Linked DNA regions of Homo sapiens: region 2 is linked to region 1. Evidence: promoter capture Hi-C in 16 types of primary human blood cells and fetal thymus (Javierre and others, 2016). All regions are on one chromosome and are shown on one strand. The core of a region is centred on a gene start or on the middle of the fragment in contact, and the rest is flanking DNA. Distances in the headings are between cores, read along the strand shown.

The links. Contacts are between HindIII fragments. The CHiCAGO score rates a contact against its expected background, and 5 or more counts as called.
Region 2: a contact is called between a fragment that was not itself captured here and the fragment with the promoter of RPL23 in region 1, in 4 of 17 cell types (activated CD4 T cells, total CD4 T cells, total CD8 T cells and 1 more). The highest score is 6.1, in activated CD4 T cells.

What each region holds. Positions count from the first base shown.
Region 1 is chr17:38,852,046-38,859,713 of GRCh38, forward strand. It overlaps RPL23 (ribosomal protein L23), which reads right to left and starts at 1,676. Exons shown (of 5, transcript NM_000978.4): 1 at 1,653-1,676; 2 at 977-1,060; 3 at 559-687. The coding sequence starts at 1,665. SNORA21 (small nucleolar RNA, H/ACA box 21) reads right to left here and starts at 950; the gene lies at 818-950. It also overlaps the pseudogene RPS20P35. RefSeq lists enhancers at 529-1,312, 623-1,822, 1,313-2,096, 1,820-1,929. The HindIII fragment of the contact is 31,460 bases long and covers 1-7,668 here.
Region 2 is chr17:38,925,227-38,932,238 of GRCh38, forward strand. It overlaps LASP1NB (LASP1 neighbor), which reads left to right and starts at 388. Exons shown (of 2, transcript NM_001414697.1): 1 at 388-665; 2 at 1,191-4,155. The coding sequence starts at 468. The coding sequence ends at 545. RefSeq lists enhancers at 4,467-5,012, 5,013-5,559. The HindIII fragment of the contact is 828 bases long and covers 2,874-3,701 here.

The DNA.
Region 1 (7,668 bases), core at 426-2,925:
GGGAGCCTGAGATTAAGTAATGAGCAATTAGCCGGGTGTGGTGGTGCACACCTATGATCCCAGCTACTCGGGAGGCTGAGGCAGGACAATCTCTTGAGCCCGGGAGGTGGAGGTTGCAGTGAACAGATATGTGCCACTGCACTCCAGCCTGGGCAACAAGTGAGACTCCATCTCAAAAACAAATAATAAAATAAGCAACGGGCAGCTTGTTTTCGTTTTGTAATATATTTTTTTTTGAGAGCCCAGGAGGCGGAGGTTGCAGTGAGCCAAGATCGTGCCATTGCACTCCAGTATGGGCTGGGCGACAGAGAGAGACTCCATCTCAAAAAACAAAACAAAACAAAACAAAAACAACAACAAAAAAACAACTAAGGTATGGAAGTGACAAGATGATGGTCCCCCCTCCAACACAATATGAGCAAAAACTTAAGATACTTATCTCACACTGCCTCTCAATGGAAAACAAACTTGAGGCCTTGAAAACTGATCCATTTTCCAATAAAGGAAAGCGTCCCCCCACTACTCATCAGTATTAAGGTGGGCTCAGTGTTTACTCACCCTTTTTTCTGAGCTCTGGTTTGCCTTTCTTGACTGTGGCCATCACCATGTCACCCACACCAGCAGCGGGAAGTCTGTTCAGCCGTCCCTTGATCCCCTTCACGGAGATGATATACAGGTTTTTGGCTCCTACAAAAGAATGTAAATAAAAATAAAAAATGTTGAGGGCCATCAGGCCGTTCCATCAGTATAACATTTCCCAAACACTTCCAAAGCCCCTCCCTCCACTCACTGCCCAAGCAGTTAGTCCGCAAGAACGCCTTGTCACACCACCGATTGAAGCAAACAACACATGTTGCCACTTCACCCAAAAGCGATGTTTTCACTCTCCCCTTTCTTGACGGCTCAATAGGTCATTAGCCACAGGCCCATTGAGTGCTTTTAAAAGGGGGAGTATAGCAACGTGCAAAGACCTCACCTGTGTTGTCAGCACAATTGATTACAGCTCCTACCGGAAGACCCAAGGAAATCCGGAATTTCGCACCAGAGGACCCACCACGTCCTGTGGATATAAAGGGAAGGGAAACAGGATAAAGAGATCACAATCTAGACATGGTTCGGAGTTCCCCCTCATACTCAAGCTGTAATTCACCGCACATGCTTTGATAGACTGTACGCTATAGATTAGCTCGCTCGGATTTTACTTATGCCGTCCCCATGTGCCACCCGATTCTCACGGAAAGTAGCCTATTTCTTACTATTAACACTCTGACATCGAAATTAAGAAACCTAGACGACTCAACCCTTGCTCTAACTTTCGCAAAACGCAATTACTCCTGCAAGGCATAAAACCGCAGAGGTCGCGCAAACCAGGGCCTAATCCAGTCTAACTTCAACCCCATTACGATAGCCCTATTCGCGGAGCGATCTCGCGGTATCCAGACTACATTCACGTCGGGATCCTGCCATCTCAACTCTCCAGCACCCCACTGCCACTTTCGAGGGCCCTGGCAGTGCTCTCGCGGTGGCCTGGCTCTCTCTCTCCGGCCTGAAGGAGAGCAAAGCGCCCCAGCTGCCTAGGGCCACCGCTCCTGACGAATCCGCCAGCCACTGCACGACAGATGGTGGAGGATCCTCCAGAAACAAAACCTCACCTCGCTTCGACATCTTGAACGCCGGAAAAAAGAAAAAAGGAAGTCGATTCAAAGGACACTGGGATATGAACTTTAACGCCCCGCCCACCCTCCTCACGTGGCCGGAGCAAAAACCGGCCTCTTCCGCCTCTGGGCGCTGCCTTATTACGTAATAAGTTTACGACGTCGCTTTTAGCCCTCTCTGCGAAGTGGGAGTTGAGGTAGAAGCGCAAGAGATAGGAAGTATCTTCTCTACGAGCTTAAGAGTAGTTAGGGACATGGAAACAGTGATTTGTTAACTTGCTCACGACCTCTTTTGACCACTTAATAGTGCCAGGCACTTATCTGCACACTAGAGAATAGGAATTAAAACACGGTTTGTGCCGTGTGGGGGTTCCCCAAGGAACAAAGAAAGTGGGGGAGGGAGGGAGAACAAGCTCTAAACGGTTTCGTTGAATGTAATACAGTTGAGAAGTGCTGCAGATCATTCCATCTATGTGTTCTTGGTATCATACCATTCTGTATTTTACATATACAGTATTGCTCTATTTATTGACCCGTCCCCCCCAACACACACTCTTTTTTTCTTTTTTTGAGACCGAGTCTCACTCTGTCGCCCAGGCTGGAGTATAGTGGCGAGATCTCAGCTCACTGCAACCTCCGTCTTCCGGGTTCAAGCAATTCTCTGTCTCAGCCTCAGAGTACCTGAGACCACAGGCGCCCGCCACAACGCTGGGCTAATTTTTGTATTTTTAGTAGAGACGGGGTTTCGCCATGTTATTGGCCAGGCTGGTCTCGAACTTCTGATCTCAAGTGATCTGCCCGCCTTGGTCCCTCAAAGTGCTGGGATTACAGGCGTGAGCCCCCGCGCCAGGCCTAATTGCTCCTTTCACAGCTTCAGCCGCCCCTTATTCTCTGGGTTCTTTCCTTCCCACGATACATTAATTCACATACTTATTGAGCTCCTACTTTACAGCAGGTTCTGTCCAGGGCGTACAGCGGATTACATCAGAGAACAAAATAGATCAACATTCTTTTCCTTATGGAGCTTACATTCTGCTGGGGTGCAGGTGGAGGAGGATATTAGACACTAAACAAAAGATATAATAAGTAATTGCAGTATGTAGTATGTTAGATGGGGATATGTATTATAAAAATATAAATAGTATCGCTTCTCGGCCTTTTGGCCAAGATCAAGTGTAAAATATAAATAGTGGCCGGGCCTTGTGGCTCACGCTTGTAATCCCAGCACTTTGGGAGGCCGAGGCGGGTGGATCACGAGGTCAGGAGATCGAGACTAGCCTGGCCAACACAGGGAAACTCCGTCTCTACTAAAAATACAAAAATTAGCTGGGCGTGGTGGCGGGCGCCTGTAATCCCAGCTACTCCGGAGGCTGAGGCAGGAGAATCGCTTGAACCCAGAAGGCAGAGGCGGCAGTGAGCCGAGATCGCGCTACTGCACTCCAGCCTGGGCGACAGAGCTAGACTCCGTCTCAAAAATGTATATAGATAAATAGCTCTTTGAGGAAGACGCGGTCGTAGGTGTTGCGGATCGCTGATCCGCACGCTCCTGCTACTGACTCACCGCTGTTCGCCCTCGCCGAGGAACCAGTCGCTCAGGAAGCCGCGCAGCAGCCATGGCTTTTAAGGATACCGGAAAAACACCCAGGGAGGCGGAGGTGGCAATTCACGAATTCGAGTCACTCTAACGAGCCGCATCGTAAAATCCCTGGAGAAGGTGTGTGCTGACTTGATCAGAGGAGCAAAGGAAAATAATCTCAAAGTGAAAGGACCAGTTCGAATGCCTGCCAAGACTTTGAGAATCACTTCAAGAAAAACTTTGTGGTGAAGGTTCTAAGACATGGGATCATTTCCAGATGAGAATCCACAAGTGACTCATTGACTTGCACAGTCCTTCTGAGATTGTTAAGCAGATTACTTCCATCAGTATTGAGCCAGGAGTTGAGGTGGAAGTCACCATTGCAGATGCTTAAGTCAACTATTTTAATAAATTGATTACCAGTTTTTTTTTCTTTTTCTTTTCTTTCTTTTCTTTCTTTCTTTCTTTTTTTTTTTTGAGACGGAGTTTCGCTCTTGTTGCCCAGGCTGGAGTGCAGTGGCGCGATCTTGGCTCACCGCAACCTCCACGGCCGATATCTATCTATCTATCTCTATCTATCTCTCTCTCTCTCTCTATCTCTATAGAGATATATATCTATAGAGATAGATAGAGATATATCTATCTCTATGTATTTATCTATATTAAAAACAACTGGTAATCGGCCGGGCGCGCTGGCTCACGCCTGTAATCCCAGCACTTTGGGAGGCCAAGGCGGGCAGATCACCTGAGGTCAGGAGTTCGAGACCAACCTGGCCAAAATGGTGAAACCTCGTTTCTACAACAATACAAACATTAGCCAGGCGCAGTGGTTCACGCCTGTAATCCCAGCGCCTTGGGAGGCCGAGGCGGTCGGATCACCTGAGGTCGGGAGTTTGAGACCAGCCTGACGACCAACTTGGAGAAACCCCATCTCTACTAAAAATACAAAATTAGCTGGGCGTGGTGGCACATGCCTGTAATCCCAGCTACTCAGGAGGCTGAGGCAGGAGAATCTCTTGAAACCCGGGAGGTGGAGGTTTCAGTGAGCTGAGATTGCACCATTGCACTCCAGCCTGGGCAACAAGAGCGTTTGAAACTCTGTCTCAAAAAAAAAAAAACAAAACAAAACAAAAATGGGGCCAGGTGTGGTGGCTCATGCCTGTAATTCCATCACTTTGGGAGGCCAAGGTGGGTGTATTACTTGAGGTCAGGAGTCAGAGACCAGCTTGCCCTAAATAGCAAAACTCTGTCTCTACTAAAAATACAAAAATTAGCAAGGCATGGTGGCTCATGCCGGTAATTCTAGCACTTTGGGAGGCCGAGGCTGGTAGACTGCCTCAGCTCAGGAGCTGAAGACCCAGCCCAAGCAACATGGCGAAACCCTGTCTCTACTAAAAATACAAAAAATTAGCCAGGCGTGGTGCGTGCCTGCAGTCCCCAGCTACTCGGGAGGCTGAGGCACGAGAATCACTGGAACCCAGGAGGTGGAGGTTGCAGTGAGCCGAGATCGCGCCAGTGCACTCTAGCCTGGGTGACAGAGCAAGATTCCGTCTCAAAAAAAAAAAAAAAAAGATATTGACATGAAACCAGGCACAGTGGCTCACATCTATAATCCCGAAACAATTTGGGAGGTTGAAGCAGGAGGATCCCTTGAGCCCAGGAGTCTGAGACCTGCCTGGGCAACATAGGGAGAGTCCATCTCTACAAAACATTTAAAAATTAGCTGGTGGCGGCTGGGTACAGTGGCTCATGCCTGTAATCCCAGCACTTTGGGAGGCTGAGGCAGGCAGATCATCTGAGGTCAGAAATTTGAGACCAGCCTGCCCGTCATGGTGAAACCCCATCTCTACTAAAAATACAAAAATCAGCTGGGCATGGTGGTGGGCAACCTGTAATCCCAAGTACCCAGGAATCTGAGACAGGAGAATTGTTTGAAGCCGGGAGGCGGAGGTTGCAGTGAGCCCAGATTGCGCCACTGCACTCCAGCCTGAGCAACAGAGCGAGACTCTGTCTTAAAATAAAATAAAATAAAATAAGCTGGTGGCATGGGAATCTGAGGCAGGAGAATCACTTAAACCCAGGAATTGGGGACTGCAGTGAGCCGTGATTGCACCACTGCACTCCAACCTGGGCTACAGAGAGAAACCCTTTGTCATTTTCCAATAAAAAGCCCTAAGGCAGGGGTGTGACTGAACCGAATGAGCACCAGCAAGGAAGCCAGATGTGACTGGACAGGACGAGTAAAGAGCAAAGTAGTAAGAAATGCAGTCAGAAGTAATGGAACGGTGGCTCACACCTGTAATCCCAGCACTTTAGGAGGCCAAGGCAGGTGATAACCTGAGGTCAGGAGTTCAAGACCAGCCTGGCCAACATGGTGAAACCCTGTCTCTACAAAAATACAAAAATTAACCATGCATGATGGCAGGTGCCTGTAATCCCAGCTACTTGGTGGGTTGAGGTGGGAGAATCATGTGAACCTGGGAGGCAGAGGTTGCAGTGAGCCGAGATCACACCATTGCACTCCAGCCTAGGTGACAGAGCGAGAGTTCTGTCTCAAAAAAAGGAAGTCATGGAATGAAACCACTGTGGACTTTGGCATTGGCTGAGTGAAATGAGGAAACATTCTTTGATTTTAAGCAGAGGAGGGACATGATTTGACTAATGTGTCAGAAGGATCACTGTGGTTGAGTTGTTGAGACTACACTGTGGGAGAGGACACAGGGATAGAAGTAAGAAGATCCATTAGGAAGCTATTGCAGTAACCCAGGAGAGAAATGATGGTGGTTTGGACTAGAATGGTAGTAGTGGATGTAATGTAGTCAGATTCTGGATGTGTTTTGGAGGTAGAGCCAATAAAATGTGGGGTATGAAAGATAGGAATCAAAATGTCTCCAAGTCTTTAGGCCTGAGCAATTGGAAGATATCATTGCCGTCAACCAAGATGGAGAAGGCTATGGTTATAGGAGGAATAGTGTTCCTGGTTGGTACTACCACCAGTGTCTCAACCAAAAAACAGGGACACAATTAATTCTCTTCTCCCAGGCTCCTAGAAGTAGTCACCAAGGTCTATCAACTTGACTCTGTTTCCTAAATTTTTCTGCCCATGCCTTCCACGTTCTGCCTTTGTTTCAAAGCTATTGCATCGGCCTCTATATGGTCAGACCATAATTTCCCACTGCTTAAAATCATGTGCTGGCCAGGCATGGTGGCTCACACCTGTAATCCCAGCACTTTGGGAGGCCGAGGCAGGCAGATCACCCGAGGCCAGGAGTTTGAGACCAGCCTGGCCAACATGGTGAAACCCTGTCTCTAATAAAAATACAAAAATTAGTCAGGGGTGATGGCACGCACCTGTGATCCCAGGTATTCAGGAGGCTAAGCAGAAGAATTGCTTGAACCCAGGAGGCAGAGTTGCAGTGAGCCGAGGTTGCCCCACCGCACTCCAGCCTGGGCATGCAGTGAGACTCCATCTCAAGGAAAAAAAAAAAAAAAAAAAACAAGAAAACAAAACAAAAAACATGTACCGACCCTCTGGTACTTATAGAATACAGTCCAAGCTGTTTAAGCATCGAAGTCACTTGAAATGGCCTACCTCTTCCCTGGCTCCATCTTCTGCCACCTTGCCTCTTATATTTCACACACCAGAAACACCAAACCAGTTAGGATTTCTGGACATATAGCTTAGATTCACACTTTCTTGTATTTATGCATTCACCTGCTTTAGCCACTATGTGTTATTTATTTATTTATTTATTTTGAGACAGAGTTTCACTCTTGTTGCCCAGGCTGGGGTGTAATGGCACCATCTCAGCTCACTGCAACCTTTGCCTCCAGGATTCAAGTGATTCTCCTGCTTCGGCCTCCCAAGTAGCTGGAATTACAGGTGTACACCACCATGGCCAGCTAATTTTTTTTTTTTTTTGTATTTTTAGTAGAGATGGGGATTTTACCATGTTGGTCAGGCTAGTCTCGAACTCCTGACCTCAAATGATCCACCTGCCTCAGCCTCCCAAAGTGCTAGGATTACAGGTGTGAGCCACCATGCCCGTCCAACCTGTTCTTTAAAACTCTGCTCAGGTATCATTTCTTCTCTGAGCCGTTTCACAACCCCAGCAGTTTATTCTCTGAGCCACTTCTTTACTAGGAGCTGTGGTTCTCAAATATTTTCATTTTAGACCCCTTTACACTCTTTTTTTTTTTTTTTTTTTTTTAAGACAGAATCTCACTCTGTCACCCAGGCTGGAGTGCAGTGGGACCATGTTGGCTCACTGCAACCTCCATCTCCTGGGTTCAAGCAATTCTCCTGCCTTAGCCTCCTGAGTAGCTAGGATTACAGGCGCCCACTACCACGCCCGGCTAATTTTTTTATATTTTTAGTAGAGACGGGGTTTCACCATGTTGGCTAGTCTGGTCTCAAATTCCTGAACTCAGGTGATC
Region 2 (7,012 bases), core at 2,038-4,537, 75 kb after region 1:
CCCAATACCCAACCATGATTTTTCTGAGATAATCTGCCCGAGGTGTGTGAGAGGAAACGCGAAGAAGGCAGTCAGGAGGATTCACTCTTGGGGGAGCTGGGTAGGATCCTATCTCCTCCTACATCCAGAGCATGCAGGCTCCATTTAGATACAAAGGGGTGGGATTGGGTTCCTGGGGAGAAATTGAGCCCCTTTGATTCTGCGGTTCTGTGGGTCTAAATCTGGCATCTCCTTGGCTATCCACCCCCAGGCTTTGTGATTGGTTGGCTGTGGTTGGTGGGGGGGCAGGAAGCTGCTGGTGGAGCTGCAGCATCCTTCAGTCTCAGGCCCCTGGGAGGGGGAGGGGAAAGAACCAGGGCTGAGCTGTGGAGTGAAGGGGAGCCATTTCTCTCCACCGACTGCAACCTCCGTGCTCACAGCTCACGGTTCACCAGAATCCAGGGGCTTGGTCGGCCTAGGAATCCACAATGCTGGATATTTTCATCCTGATGTTCTTTGCCATCATAGGCCTGGTCATTCTGTCCTACATTATCTATCTGCTCTAGTGGCCTGGAGCTGCGGCCGGAGCCTGCTGGAGAACAGCTCAGAAGGAAGGATGGAGATGAATGGCCGAGTGCCCTGCTTGCTGACGCACCGGTGGATTTTTGCTTCTGCTGTTATCTCGGGTATTGATTCCAAAAAAAAAAGAAAAGAAAAAAAGAAAGAGTTTGCTTTCCTATTTTTTTTCTTAGACCACTCTGAAAAGAATAAGAAATGCCAGCTTCTTTCTTTGGGACCTAATTTAAAATAAGACTTTAAAAATTACAAATAAAATCCACAATGTAAACGATTTTTAGGCAGAACGGGTTGGGAATGATGGATGTGGTGGGGAGGGACTATTATTTCCTAATTTCTTCTTCAAGTTAGGTGCTCAAACTCAAGTTGTCTATTTTCTTCTGGTAATTAAAGGTAAAACACATCTTTGCATGTCAGCATACTTGCAATATAGTTGTTTACAACTATGCTTGTATAATTGCATTACTTAATGATTGACTCATTCTTATTTGAGGGTGAGACGGCAAATAAATTTTACTTGGGGTGGGGTTTTCGGGGAGATGTCCAACTGTGGGATATGGTGGAGAGGAGGGAGGAACTCCTGGTACTTTGCAGTTGTCCCCATCTGAGACTTTTTATTTCTGGGTTTCTTACAGCTCCTGGTCTCTCCAGTCCAACAAGAGGCCTCTCATCCACAGAAGCAGTCCTACTGCCCAGCAGACCTCTTTCAGAGCCTTCCAGACATGGCTGACCCCTGGCAAGCAAGGGGCTTTTTGAGCTGAGAGGCACTTGGCTGGGACTTCAGGAATTCATGGACAGGGCTGGCAGATACTGCATATGTTTGAGCTGTAGATGGGATTGAGAACAGAAAGTTGAAATGGAGACTTATTAAAGTTACCGTGGAGAACTGCTCAAAAATTCATTTTGAATTAAGGAAACTTAAATTCATTTTAAGTTTCCTTAGATCTAAATGCAACTGCACATTACACTCAAATATGTTCCTTCCTTCTCACACACAGGACTCCCTTGTGAAACTCAAGGGGAAGTTCAAGTTGTCCATCTTCATCTATGAAGTAGTCACTTTATCACTGTCTTTACAGATTGCACAGTCTGGGGTTTTGTGGTTTCTCTTGTCTCACTCTCCAGCCAGGAAGAACTTGTCATTTGAGTTTTTAAAATGTATCATTTCTTCCCCACCTCAAACCACTTGTATCCCAGTTTCTCATTTAAAGGGAGAAATGGTTATATAGTCCTCTCTTTGCACCTGATTGAATTATAAATGATAGAAACAAGATGGCTATACTTATTTAGGAAAAATCTCTTACCCCAAAATGAGTGTGTGTGTGTGTGTGTGTGTGCGTGTGTGTGTGTGTGTGTGTTTTAATCAAAGATCTTTTCTGGAAAAAACTTTCCACATAGTTCTCTGACCCATTAGAGTTGAAGAAACTATGTATTTTGGGATTCAGAGTAGAATTGGCCTGCAAATCTGGGGTGTTTATTCCTTTTACAAGTCTATCATAATTGTTCTACATTTAATTTTCCTTTCTTGCTTAAAAGTAAACAAGGAGAGTCAGGAGTGGTGGCTCATGCCTGTAATCCCAGCACTCTGGGAGGCCGAGGCGGATGGATCACCTGAGGTCAGGAGTTGGAGACCAGCCTGGCCAACACGGTGAAACCCCGTCTCTACTAAAAATACAAAAATTAGTCAGGCACAGTAGTGCGCGCCTGTAGTCCCAGCTACCCGGGAGGCTGAGGCCGAAGAATTGCTTGAACCCGGGAGGCAGAGGTTGTAGTGAGCCGACATCATGTCACTGCACTCCAGCCTGGGAGACATAGCGAGATTCCGTCTCAAATAAAATAAAATAAATAAATAAATAAACAAGGAGAAAGATTAGTTTTTAGTAATAACATTGTGTCCAATTTCCATGTTTTAAAACAAAAATTGAGGCATTATATGTCACAACTGAAATGGAAAAGTTGTGTTTAAAAATTATGGACAAGGCCGGGCACGGTGGCTCACGCCTGGAATCCCAGCACTTTGGGAGGCTCAGGCAGGAGGATCACTTGAGGTCGGGAGTTTGAGACCAGTCTGACCAACGTGGTGAAACCCTGTCTCTACTAAAAATACAAAAATTAGCTGGTGTGGTGGCAGGTGCCTGTAATCCCAGCTACTCAGGAGGCTGAGGCAGGAGAATCGCTTGAACCTGGGAGGCAGAGGTTGCAGTGAGCCGAGATCACACCTCTGCACTCCAGCCTAGGTGACACAGCAAGACCCCATCTCAAAAAAAAATAATAATAAAAACATAAAAATTATGGACAAGAAAAAACACTATTCTGGAAGCTTTGTTTTGGCAACAAATTATATGACCTGACCTTTCATAAGTCATTTAAACTTTAGGGCTAGGCCAGGTGCTATGGCGCATGCCTATAATCCCAGCATTTAGGGAAGTAGAAGCAGGAGGATAGCTTGAGGCCAAGAATTCCAGACCAGCCCAGGCAATATAGCGAGACCCCCGTCTCCACAAAAATAAAAAATAAAATAAAAATAAATAAATACATAAACTTTAGGTCCTCTGTTTATTCTGTCAAATGAAAGTGTTAGGCCAAGGTCGCATTATCTCTTTGGAAACTACATCGAGAACAGAATTCCCATGGAACGAACTCTTAATAGTTCACTGGTAGTCCCCCTTTTCTGAATATTCTTCCCAACATGACACTTTATAACAAAAATTTAACTGCAAAACTCTTTTTTTTTCACCAACAGCCAGATTTTGATGAGAAAATGGCCATATTTATTTACTCCAAATATATATTATGTCTGTGATAATTTGCCTAAACTGTTTAAGGAATATTAACAAGTATGATACTGCATCGTGGTATGTAGCAAAAAGATAGGTAATCTGACATACATGGATGCAAGCAGCATGGCTGTGAACCTGGATATATTTAGAAATGATCTTCAGTGGAGTCCTTGATGTGACATTTTCCACTAAAACATTCTTCTAACTCTGGTATATCTTAGTGTTTCGAACTATAATTTCCGTCTTCAAGCCAAGACAGCAGCTCTACATCCTTACCTAGGTAATTCAGGCATGCGCCAGTATTTTGGAGGGGTCCAAATTAGAGTTAGTTATGATGGTATAGATCTTTAAAGTATAGTCTAACCAAGCTTGCTCTGGTCTTTTGTGACATCAAGGCTTCTCAGTCTGTATTCACATAAAGTTGAAACAACTAATCAATTCAGTGAAAAAAAATCAGCAGATTTCACTCATACACTGGTGATATATACCACTGGTATTGGGTACAATGTAAGGAGAGAGGATTACCCATCTCTTCAGTTACTTGTAAAATATGATTTTAAAAAAATAAATCAATACATTTTGGAAAAATTATATGACTTTGTGCTTATATTTATGCAACAATATGCTAGCTTATAACAGGGTTTTACTGTGTTATTTTGATAGTTGTTTAAATTTTACATTTAAACTATTTGTATTTTGGCATCCCAAAACATAATAAAACACTGCAAAAAGTTACCTCTGTAATATAAGATTTTGTATAAATTTTATAAATTTGTGTCATAGGGTAATTTTGTCCAATAAAATGTCAATGAGATAAAAACCACTCTGAAGAATTATAAATTACTTAGAAAAAAATCAAGTGACAATGCTAAGAATCATTACACTAATACCTGCTTTCTTGATGAAAACAGGGGGTTTGTGGGGAAGAATGATGTATTTTATTTATTTTATTTTTTGGTTTTTGAGACAGAGTTTCGCTCTTGTCACCCAGGCTGGAGTGCAATGGCACAATCTTGGCTCACTGCAACCTCCGCCTCCTGGGTTCAAGCGATTCTCCTGCCTCAGCCTTCCGAGTGGCTGGGAGCACAGGTGTGCATCCCCATGCCTGGCTAATTTTTGTATTTTTTAAAGTAGAGACAGGTTTTCATCATGTTGGCCAGGTTGGTTTGGAACTCCTGACCTCAGGCTATCTGCCTGCCTCAGCCTCCCAAAGTGCTGGGATTACAGGTGTGAGCCACCGTGCCTGGCCAAAATATCATTTTGATTTTAAATTACTCAAAAATAATGGGACTTTTCCTTAGGCATCGAAGTACAACTGAAGTGGAAAATTGTCTTTGTAAATTACATGCTTTGGCTTTATCAAACTATAGATATTTTCAAAGCCTAGAGTGGCCTCTTCTTTTTTTTTTGTTTTCTTTTATTATTATTATTATTTTTTTTTTTATTTTTTATTTTTTATTTTTTATTGATCATTCTTGGGTGTTTCTCGCAGAGGGGGATTTGGCAGGGTCATAGGACAATAGTGGAGGGAAGGTCAGCAGATAAACAAGTGAACAAAGGTCTCTGGTTTTCCTAGGCAGAGGACCCTGCGGCCTTCCGCAGTGTTTGTGTCCCTGGGTACTTGAGATTAGGGAGTGGTGATGACTCTTAACGAGCATGCTGCCTTCAAGCATCTGTTTAACAAAGCACATCTTGCACCGCCCTTAATCCATTCAACCCTGAGTGGACACAGCACATGTTTCAGAGAGCACAGGGTTGGGGGTAAGGTCACAGATCAACAGGATCCCAAGGCAGAAGAATTTTTCTTAGTACAGAACAAAATGAAAAGTCTCCCATGTCTACCTCTTTCTAGACAGACACGGCAACCATACGATTTCTCAATCTTTTCCCCACCTTTCCCCCCTTTCTATTCCACAAAACCGCCACTGTCATCATGGCCCGTTCTCAATGAGCCGCTGGGCACACCTCCCAGACGGGGTGGTGGCCGGGCAGAGGGGCTCCTCACTTCCCAGCAGGGGCGGCCGGGCAGAGGCGCCCCTCACCTCCTGGACGGGGCGGCTGGCCGGGCAGGGGGTTGACCCCCCCTACCTCCCTCCCGGACAGGGCGGCTGGCCAGGCAGAGGGGCTCCTCACTTCCCAGTAGGGGCGGCCGGGCAGAGGCGCCCCTCACCTCCCGGACGGGGCGGCTGGCCGGGTGGGGGGCTGACCCCCCCACCTCCCTCCCGGACGGGGCGGCTGGCCGGGCGGGGGGGCTGACCCCCCCACCTCCCTCCCGGACGGGGTGGCTGCCGGGCGGAGACGCTCCTCACTTCCCAGACGGGGTGGCTGCTGGGCGGAAGGGCTCCTCACTTCTCTGACGGGGCGGCTGCCGGGCGGAGGGGCTCCTCACTTCTCAGACGGGGCGGTTGCCAGGCAGAGGGTCTCCTCACTTCTCAGACGGGGCGGCTGGGCAGAGACGCTCCTCACCTCCCAGACGGGGCCGTGGCCGGGCAGAGGCGCTCCTCACATCCCAGACGGGGCGGCGGGGCAGAGGCGCTCCCCACATCTCAGACGATGGGCGGCCGGGCAGAGACGCTCCTCACTTCCTAGATGGGATGGCGGCCGGGAAGAGGCGCTCCTCACTTCCTAGATGGGATGGCCGCCGGGCAGAGACGCTCCTCACTTTCCAGACTGGGCAGCCAGGCAGAGGGGCTCCTCACATCCCAGACGATGGGCGGTAGAGTGGCCTCTTCTAAGTCAGTTTTGTGCCCATCTATTTTAAACAAAAATAAAACCAAAGTCATATATTAACAGGGGAACAGAAAAAGCCATTGACACAACTTCCATTATAAAATCAAACACACCAAGGCAGATACATTAGAAATGTTTAAGAACATCTTTGTACTTAAAATTTAAACTGTGAGACTGCCAGGTGTGGTGGTGGCTCACGTCTGTAATCCCAGCACTTTGGAAGGCCGAAGCAGGTAGGTCACTTGAGGTCAGGAGTTGGAGACCAGACTGGCCAACATGGTGAAACCCCATCTCTACTGAAAATACAAAATTAGCCGGGCAAGGTGGCACATGCCTGTAATCCCAGCTACTCAGGAGGCTGAGGCAGGAGCATCACTTGAACCCGGAAGGTGGAGGTTGTAGTGGGCCGAGATTGCGCCACTGCACTCCAGCCTGGACGACAGAGAGAGATTCGGTCTTAACAAAACAAAACAAAACAAAACACAAAACACAGGCTGGGAGCAGTGGCTCATGCCTGTAATCCCAGCACTTTGGGAGGCTGAGCTGGGTGGATCACGAGGTCAGGAGTTCGAGACCAGCCTGGCCAACATGGTGAAACCCTGTCTACACTAAAAATACAGAAAAAAAAAAAAAAAAAAAAAAACCTGGGCATGGTGGCACGTGTCTGTAAATCCCAGCTGCTCAGGAGGCTGAGGCAGAAGAATTGCTCAAACCCAGGAGGCAGAGGTTGCAGTAAGCCGAGATTGCACCATTGCACTCCAGCCAGGCGGCAGAGCAAGACTATCTCTCAAAAAAACAAACAAAACAAAAAACAAACACCGTAAGAGGCCGGGCACTGTGCTTCACGCCTATAATCTCAGCACTTTGGGTGGCCGAGGTGGGGCAGATCACCTGAAGTCAGGAGTTTGAGACCGGCCTTTCCAACAAAGTGAAACCCCAGCTCTACT